3 separate regions of the Homo sapiens genome follow, and regions 1 and 3 are each linked to region 2. The links are contacts of gene promoters, found by promoter capture Hi-C in blood cells and fetal thymus (Javierre and others, 2016). All regions are on one chromosome and are shown on one strand. Each heading gives the region's core, a stretch centred on a gene start or on the middle of the fragment in contact. The rest is flanking DNA. Distances are from core to core; before and after follow the strand shown.

Region 1 (3,084 bases), core at 154-2,653, 1.2 Mb before region 2:
TATACTCCTTGAGTGACCATCAGGAAGAAAATAGTCATTCTTTTAAGTGAAAATTTATTAATGTGGGGTTAATTCCCCTAAGGAGAGGCCTAATGATAAGCATTAGATAGGTATCTGTGTGTGTATAATTTTTCTGGAATGGAGAGAATCTGTAGGATTCTTAAGACCCAGTAAATTCTGAAGGATTAAGAATCACTTCAAGTCTGACACCCTGAACTGAGCAAGTATGTCTGTGTGTGTGTGTGTGTGTGTGTGTGTGTGTGTGTGTGTGTGTATTTGCTGTGTTTGTGGATCGCCTTGGATTACTTTTAATCTGTAGTGTGAGGTTCTCTAGAGTTGATTCTAGGTAAGCAAGCAAAAATTTTTAGACATTTTAGGTTAACATTAGGCAAAGAAGGTTTTTCGTTTGTTTTGTTTTTTAATATTAAGAGGGGATGTTCATAAAGTAACATACTGATTCCATTATGTCATCCAAACAATAGTATCAACACTATGTTCCACAACAGTAAAGCTTTAGGACCTGTAAATTAATGTTTCGTATGTGAATTATGAATACAATATTTTAATTATGTTGAAATTAAACCAATACCACATCATCAGTCTCTCAGCTCACATGAGTAAATAGAAATGTGATCTTTAATTTTTATTGAGTTGCTTAACAGTTTCTGCTTTGTAAAATCTGTGATAGGCTACTAAATCCCTTTATAAACCCTTCCTTTTACCCCCAAAATATTTTCAGATGGTGCAGAATATAACAAGTTGCTATAGTAACTGTGCAAGCTAAAGTAATATGCCCTGTAATAGCCATGAAATACAAGTAGCATTATTTTGAATTTTGTGTTAAAAACAGAAATGTATAAAGGTGATACAATAATAAATAAAATTTAATTATGTGTTGACCAATGAAACAAAAATCTGTGAGTCACATTTTCCTCACCTATAAAATTTTTGCACATTCTCAATTGTTTCATATGTGTCTATTTTGTTAAAGGGTAGTTCTAAACTTTCTTTTACTTTGCTTAAATTATTGCTCTCAAAATATAAACAAGCTTAGTAATAGTGTATCTAATCAATCTAATTGATATTTTAGAATATCAATTAAGTGTTAATATTTATATTTTACTATAATTATGCAGAAATATATAAATCCAAAATCTTGTTTTATGTTTTTACAGTTTTGTAGACTTTTTTTGCATTTGGAGAATATTTTTGACATATTTTCCACAATTGCAAAGAAATTTTGAAATTTAGCCACTTCTAAAGAACTACTTCTAATTTTGAAGGCAAAGAAATTATCTTTAAGTCTACATTTAACCTATTTAAGAGAATTCTTATAACTTAGCATATAACCAAAATTTAGGCAAAACATAAATTCTGATCTGAAAAATAGTATTACCTACTTGATTTTCCATCACTTATATGTTCTATTAAATAACAACTTTCTAAAACATCTAGTGTTTTAATAACTTTTGTGAACATTTCAGTCACACCTAATAATGCATCATAATATAAATACAGCATGTTTTAAAAAGTTACTCAGCTTCTTTTACATTATTACTCCCTATTGGTTAAAATATTGCAAAATGGACAGTCTTTTTACAGATGTACACAAATAACTTACAGGTTTGGGAACAGTTTGCAATTCTTTAATTGCCATTTTCTCTGAAAACTATCACTGCTACATCCAAAAGACATATGTGACATTCGAAAGTATATACTTAAATTTTGTAGCTAAGTGTTTGTGTGTGTTAATGGCATAAGCTTAGGATTGGCATAAATTTTTAGGAAAATAACTTTAAATTGGTACCATTTAAAAAAATCCCCAATACCTATTTGTGATGATCTTACTATGTTCTCTTAAGACTAATGAAACTAGAGAAACTCTCTTTGAGATGGTTTTTGTCTATTGCCTGTAACTTACCACAGATTCTGTTTTTGTGGTGTGCTATTAGTTGTCACTTCCAATATAATTTAATAATTCTAAGGACATTGATCTTATTGATAGTGTTCAGTAAGAATTTGCTTTTCATTATGCCAATGATTTCATATTGAATTAGGACATATTTGTAAGAATCAAATAATTAGTTCTTAATTTCTTTTTTTTTTTGAGACGGAGTCTCACTCTGTCGCCTAGGCTTTAGTGCAGTGGCACGATCTTGGCTCACCGCAACCTCCACCTCCCAGGTTCAAGCGATTCTCTTCCTCAGCCTCACGAGTAGCTGGGACTACAGGCATGTGCTGCCATGCCCAGTAGCTGGGTTTACAGGCATGTGCCGCCGTGCCCAGCTGATTTTTGTATTTTTAGTAGAGACGGGGTTTCGGCATGTTGGCCAGACTGGTCTTGAACTCCTGACCTTAGGTGATCCACCCACCTAGGCCTCCCAAAGTGCTGAGATTACAGGTGTGAGCCACTGCGCCCGGCCTAAAATTTCTTTATCTTTCATTCTGATTTCCAGTAATTTCCGAATAACCTTTAGTTAAATTTGAAAAATTACTTATGCCATTATAATGGTAAACATGCTTTCAAGAAATAAAATGTTTTCGACTATAAGTTTTGCCTACTCTATTTGTCTTAACATATGTTTATAACTTATTGGTGACAGGTGATCACAAAGAGATTTTCCCCAAAACTGAAATGATTTCAAATATATTTATTTATAAGATTTTTTAATGTTTTTAGTGTTTGGTGAGTGACTCTTCTCTATAGATTACATTTTCATGGCAGAACAAATTTGCATTCAATTAAATATAATATCTTCATTATCATTTATCTAAATATAAAGATGCAATAAAACATAGTCTATCTCAAAATTTTTATAATTTGGAGATAAGTTTGTATATATAATATCACTTATTTTTAATTTTTTTTCCTCCAACTTTTAGATTCCATGGGTACATGTGCTGGTTTGTTACCCAGGTGTATTGTGTGATGCTGAGGTTTGGGTTACAAATGATTCCATCAGCCGGGTGCTGAGCATGATACTCAATAGTTAGTTGGTCAACCCTTGTTCCCCTTCCTCCCTACCCCCGGTAGTCCCCAGTTTCTATTGCTGCTGTCTTTATGTCCATGTATAGACATTGTTA
Region 2 (3,029 bases), core at 59-2,558:
TTTTTCTCTGTCATGTGGTAGTTTTTTCAGCTTGCCCCAAGCCTGTCCCGACCAGTGCATTCATAGACAGCCTCCTTGACTGCTTCTTTTTCCCTCAAAGGAACAGTGCAGATGAAATCATCATGGATTTTAGTGTGCACAGAAAAAGAAAAATGTGAATTTTTTAACAATGCCTTTCTAAGGCTTAAAAAAAATTCTTCCCCCTCCCCTCTTTTTCATTTTCTGTCTTATTGCTTTTATCTTGCAGAAGAATCTTTAAGGGGTCCATCTGTTAAAGCGTTCCTTCCCTCTCGGTTTCTTTCCCACACATAAGCCCTCTTGGTTTCTGAAGATACACTCAGCTTATATCTGACACCTAGTGTGTTCATAGCATTACAGTCAAGCAATGCAGTTTAGGTGGAAAGAGTTAATAAATATCATTACTACAAGATAAGATCTGAGTGCAAGGGGAAGAGGGCAAGAAAATTGTGACACTAAGTTATAATTACAGTTTGCACAGGTTAACAATGCTTTCTGAATTATATATACTGTCCCCTTTTCCAAAACAACTATTTGTAAGACTTTTTCTGTTACAAGTAACCTAACACCTTTGGGGTTTCAGCTCCAGAAACATCAATTACTCCACCATTATTGTTAAAACTTTGTCAACATTGCCTAAAAAGCCTCATATTTTTTACGGGGATGGTGAAAGAGAATGGGGGAGGCAGGGGACATTTGTGTTACAATGGTTTTATAAAAAATCTTTGTGCTATAATACTTAACATCATCCACCTATTTGGAGTCACATATACAGTACCCAAAATGTTTTGCAGTTCAATTAAGTTTTACAAGAAAGTCTGAAATACAACCAAAAGTTTAATGGCTCTAAACAACTCAGGAGTCCTAATAGCAGCATTTAGATAAGTGCAACTTATCAATATTTGGATTCTCTCTGCATCTGAGTATGTGTGTGTTCCCTGAATTTACTGTTTGCGAATGTAACTCTTAAAAATAGCTTTCTCTTTGGCATATGTACTTGTATATATGTGCTGAGTGGCTTGTATAAACATATAATCTATTTGCATGCTCTAGGACTATTAAAAGCTGTATTAACCTGCCTGAATAATATAAAAAGGTACACATCACAATGCACATTGGAAATGCCAATTAGTTGTAAAATTCCTCCTAGCTTTCCTATCTTTGAATGTGTAAAGAGCTCAGAAGTAAGAGTTAAAAAGCATTACCTTTCTGGTCCCCACTCTTCCACCAGCCGGCTCTTGTATCATGTGGTAAGAGCTGTCTGAGCTCCTCTTCATGGTATTGGCACTGTGAAGTTTTATACTGTACTACTTATTTGTACACCACACATTGGTACCACTGAAACAGAGGAGGGCTGGGGCTTTGTTTGGGATTGGTTGGAATCAGCATGACATCAGCGGATGACTGGTTTTTCCAGTGTGAGACATTTCATAATTCATTATCTAATGGAAAGCCCTTCCTGGCTTCTGAGACACTACTGGGTGATGCACTGAGCCAGTGAAACCTCTGGCTAGGATTACTCTACCTTTTAGAAAAACATTGGAATCAAATAGATATGTCTCAATGAGTGTGTCCAACTTTCAACTTTTACTACTCGCACACACGTCTCGTTATATTCAGGTTCAGTTTTATGTCTTTACATAAAACATCTGTTACTTCATGAAGTTGCTTCTATTTACAAAGTATTTTATTGTTTCTTTCAGGAAAGAAAATTGGTAGTGTTCTTTATAGGGATTCTAATTTTATATTTTTAAAATAAGCTATTTCATTGAGGAAAAAAATTGGGAAAATCTGTATAATCATATGATGATGGTCTCCCCCGACCCCAACCAACTTACACTATTATTTTACATCTTGAAATTGAATGCCTGCTTCATAAATCAAGAACTTTGGAAATAGTAATTCTCTTTAAATGAACTTCATAAGTATCCTTCCCAGGTCTTTAGAATCTCATTCTAACTAACCAAACACACACACACACACACACACACACAACAACAACAACAACAAAAACCCTCATGCATCATTCTTTTTTACCAGAACTTCAACTCCTATAATTTCTAAATTGTTACAAATATAACAGCAGATTAATGAAAAGAAGTGAACACTCCTTGAAATAGGGGTAAAGCTGGTCAGGCTTTTTTTGTGGGGGAGGGGTGTTGGCAAGTCTGGTAAATAACACAGGAGGAAGGGGTCCTCTGACAAGAACGGTGAAGGGTTGTTTGAAGGACTACAGTTGAAGCATAAGCCCAGTTCTCATGACAAGTTGGATAAAATGTGCAAAATTGGGAGCTAATGAGAGCCATATGACCAGATATGTTGTTTTGTATGCAGGATTTAACATGCATAAAATAAACTTTTCACTGTGCCCACAAGCAAAATATAGAGGCTCTGGCCTCCTGATGTGTGGCTTAAGCAGGTTCCATTAGGACACCAGAAGTTTTCTGTGTAAAAGGGTCTCTCTTGGCTAGATACAGAGAAAGTGTGGGTGCTGAGCTGCATGGGGGTGGGGGGAAGGAGTATTCTAAGAACTGCATATGCAGAAATGAAGTAGGAAAAAAATCATTAGGTTGTAGAGGAAGAGAGTGAATCTGAGTGGCGAAGACAGAAATAGGATTAATGATGGTGAACTCCAAACCTGCCCCTCAGCTTAGCACTGGGTGAACTCAAACCCTTTATAAGAAAGAAACTTCTCCACCCTTTTTGCTGAGAATTAGTGGAGTCAATGACCTTCAGGGCATCTAAACTCACCCCTGACCCACACATGAACCCTAGTGTCCTGAAAACATCCCCTCCGCCTCCACACAAAGTAGTGTGTGTGTGTGTGTGTGTGTGTGTGTGTGTGTGTGTGTGTGTGTAGGTGACGTGGGGTGGGGGTGGGGGGCACAAAACAAACCCAGATCAGATCCCAGTTCCTCTGCTCACTCACCGTGTAAACTCAGGCCTCAGTGTTCCCATCTATAAAATGGGATCCATGATATGAACCTGTGGGGGTCAAGTGCAGCTGTCAG
Region 3 (3,002 bases), core at 392-2,891, 1.3 Mb before region 2:
AGAGTTTAATACTCATAGAGCTAGCTAAATGGGAGACAGGAGTTTTATCATTCCTTAAATCAGCCTCCCTGAAAATTTGGAGCATAGGGTTTTTCGAAGGTAGTTTGATAGGCAGGTGGCTAGGGAATGGGGGATGCTGATTGGTTGAGTGGGGGATAAAATCATAGGGAGCTGAAGCTGTCTTCTTGCTGAGTCAGTTCTTACAGATGAGATGATACAGTGTACTAGTCTGGATGACGCCAGCTGGTTCATCAGAATGCAGGGTCTGAGAAATACCTCCAATACCAATCTTAGGTTTGACAATGGTAATATTATATATAGGAGTAACTGGGGAGGTTAGGAATCTTGTGGCCTTTGGCTGTGTGACTTGTGAGCCATAATTTCTAATGTTGTGGCTGATTTATTAGTTTCACAAAGGCAGTGTGGTCCCCAAGCAAGGATGGGTTCATTTTGGGGAGGGACTGTTATCATCTTTGTTTCAAAGTTAAACTATAAAGTAAATTCCTCTCAAGTTTGGCCTACACAGAGGAATGAACGAGGGCAACTTGGAGGTTAGAAGCAAGATGGAGACAGGTCAGATTTCTTTCACTTTCAGAGTTTTCTCACTGTCATAATTTTTTCAAAGGTCTTTTCATTAGGCAAGGAAATTGATTTATTTAGGTTAACTAGAGAGTTAACCTGATTAGGGTTTGTTCAATTGTGAGTTAATGTACACTATTCTCTTTATTCAAAAAGTTGTAATTTAATCATAAGAATGTATCTCAGGGATAAGTATTCCAAAAATCTGTCCTAGACTTTTGAGAAGTTTTTAAAAGAGTAAATAATATTGCAAAGTATACTGGTTTTTTAGGTGCTCATTCATATTCAATGACAGCTGAGAGAATTCTGAATTTTTACAATGATCATTTGGCATGGGACTAGAAACAAAGGATCCCTCAGCTATTTTTGCTAAGCTTTAAATTATACATATGGACAGAAAACTGGGAAATATGATGATAGTCTAGGTTCTTGGTTGAAAACAAGTTTCGAAATAAAGTCTACCTTACAAAAATAAAAACTTAAATACATTTTTTTGTCAAAAAAGATAAAAAAAAGAACAAAGAGCTTGAAGGCCTTCTTTGAAGACTACAACAAAGAAAACAAAATATGAATGAATATAAGAATTCAAATGCACAAACGTACACAAAAATGCTTGCAATTCACCTTATTGTCATCAGATAAATTTTGCCGTTCACGTATCTTTGTTGATTCAAGGAAAATTTTACCCTGATTGGCTCTATGAATAGAAATATAATAAATGTAGCTGTGTGATATTCCAAAAGCTGGATGAAATGGCTTTTAGTATTTAAGCATAATTCCAGATATTTTGTTTTAATAAAACAATGAAAGTTAGCATTTGTCAGGATATTATCTGAAATTAATGTAAATATTCAATTATTTATATATCTTTAAAGTTGATGAAAATATAAAATATTATATTAAAACTGGCAAAAATTAAAAAAAAGAAGTACGTCATCATTTATGGTCCTCTTTAAGTCTTAAGAAGATAGAAATAGTAAGCTTCAGTACTAAGAAGAAGATCATGCCAAAAAAAAGAGTATTGTTCTGTTCAGTGTTAAGTATTGAAGAATGAACAGCATTGACAATAACTTTGTTTTTGATCTTCCCTCGTTCTATTTTGGCACTCCTCTGCAAAAGGATTTGGCAGATCTGAGCTTTTAGAAAGCTTTTCTTAGGAATGAATTAAGAGTCCCCCCCTCCCCCAATTTACGAATTGGCAACATAGACTAGAAGAAAATTTTCATTTATATTTCCTCTAAACGAGACTATCTTAGCTTAAAACAGGACATATTCTCTGAAATAAGAGCCATCCAATTCATTCCCTAGTGATGCTGGAATAGTTTTCTATTACCATAAACTACCTTACCCCTGAGTTCAGACGTTTTCTTTAGTTCTATTTTACCTATTTTCTTTGAAAGGATATTAATGGTTTATTGATTTCGATGCCGCCAAGCTTCTCCAAGTCATTCAGATTAAATGTACTTTTCTGTAGTCTTTTGGTAGTCATTATGTAAAAAAATTTGGAAGGCAAATTGAAGATGATACCTTTTTTATTTAAAAGACAGTATTGCTAGAGCATTTCTTAAACTTGAAAGCAACATTAATTACAGTTACCTCCTTTTGTTTAAATGACAGATGCTCTTGGTTAATGTATAATGCATATATGTGCATATTCTATTTATCATATATATTGGAGCTACTATTGAGAAAATATTCTTTAGTTACTTTTCTAGAGATACTCATCTATATTACTAGTAATTTAGGAAACCTAGTCCTTATCATTTGAACACTTTTGTTCCTGAAACCATGTTAAAAACTGACTTCTGCAAACCGAAGGATTGACTTGATTATTTTTATCCCATCCTAGTATGCCTCCCGCTTTCTGCTTACTTAGATGGTGACCTCGTGGAACTCCTCATGAAGTCCTAATTTTCCAAGTCAATACCCAACTGTCTAAGAATATTTTTCAGCCATTTTCTTTTTCACAGTTTACCTGGGTTATAGTTTATTACCAAAGCAATTTTTCCCACAGTTGCATCATTGTGGAGGGAATCTCAGATTTATAGAATTTTTAAAAACTTTTTTTCTTTTCTAATTACAACTTCCATTGAACCCATACTATTAAAATAACATTTATGAGCTTTTTCTAATTACGAAATGGAAGCATTCTCATTGTTGGAAATTTGGAGAGCTCAGGAAAATACCAAAATGACAGGGAAACACAAAACAAACAGAAGCAAAATGAAGTCATTTGCCCAAAGATAAGTAGTGTGGGCCCTTCAAATAGTTATTCCATTCACCTTTAACCATTTATGTTAATAATACCTCAGTGATTTGAACTTATTTTATGAACAGATACACAAAGGCCTACATGGTTTTGGCCTTTATTTTCTGTTCTCTCTCTCTCTGCTTTTTGTTTCTTTTGTTTGTTTTTTTGAGAC

What was found. Contacts are between HindIII fragments. The CHiCAGO score rates a contact against its expected background, and 5 or more counts as called.
Region 1: a fragment that was not itself captured here is called in contact with the fragment with the promoter of INHBA in region 2 in 1 of 17 cell types (M2 macrophages); the score reaches 5.3 in M2 macrophages.
Region 3: a fragment that was not itself captured here is called in contact with the fragment with the promoter of INHBA in region 2 in 1 of 17 cell types (naive B cells); the score reaches 5.6 in naive B cells.

The regions. Positions count from the first base shown.
Region 1 is chr7:40,532,296-40,535,379 of GRCh38, forward strand. The region is part of intron 12 of SUGCT (succinyl-CoA:glutarate-CoA transferase); the gene reads left to right. Among named protein-coding and RNA genes, the nearest start is that of SUGCT-AS1, 13 kb to the right of the region's middle. The HindIII fragment of the contact is 712 bases long and covers 1,048-1,759 here.
Region 2 is chr7:41,701,782-41,704,810 of GRCh38, forward strand. INHBA (inhibin subunit beta A) reads right to left here and starts at 1,309. Exons shown (of 3, transcript NM_002192.4): 1 at 1,224-1,309. The region is part of intron 1 of INHBA-AS1 (INHBA antisense RNA 1); the gene reads left to right. The HindIII fragment of the contact is 6,998 bases long and covers 1-3,029 here.
Region 3 is chr7:40,405,976-40,408,977 of GRCh38, forward strand. The region is part of intron 9 of SUGCT (succinyl-CoA:glutarate-CoA transferase); the gene reads left to right. Among named protein-coding and RNA genes, the nearest start is that of SUGCT-AS1, 140 kb to the right of the region's middle. The HindIII fragment of the contact is 166 bases long and covers 1,559-1,724 here.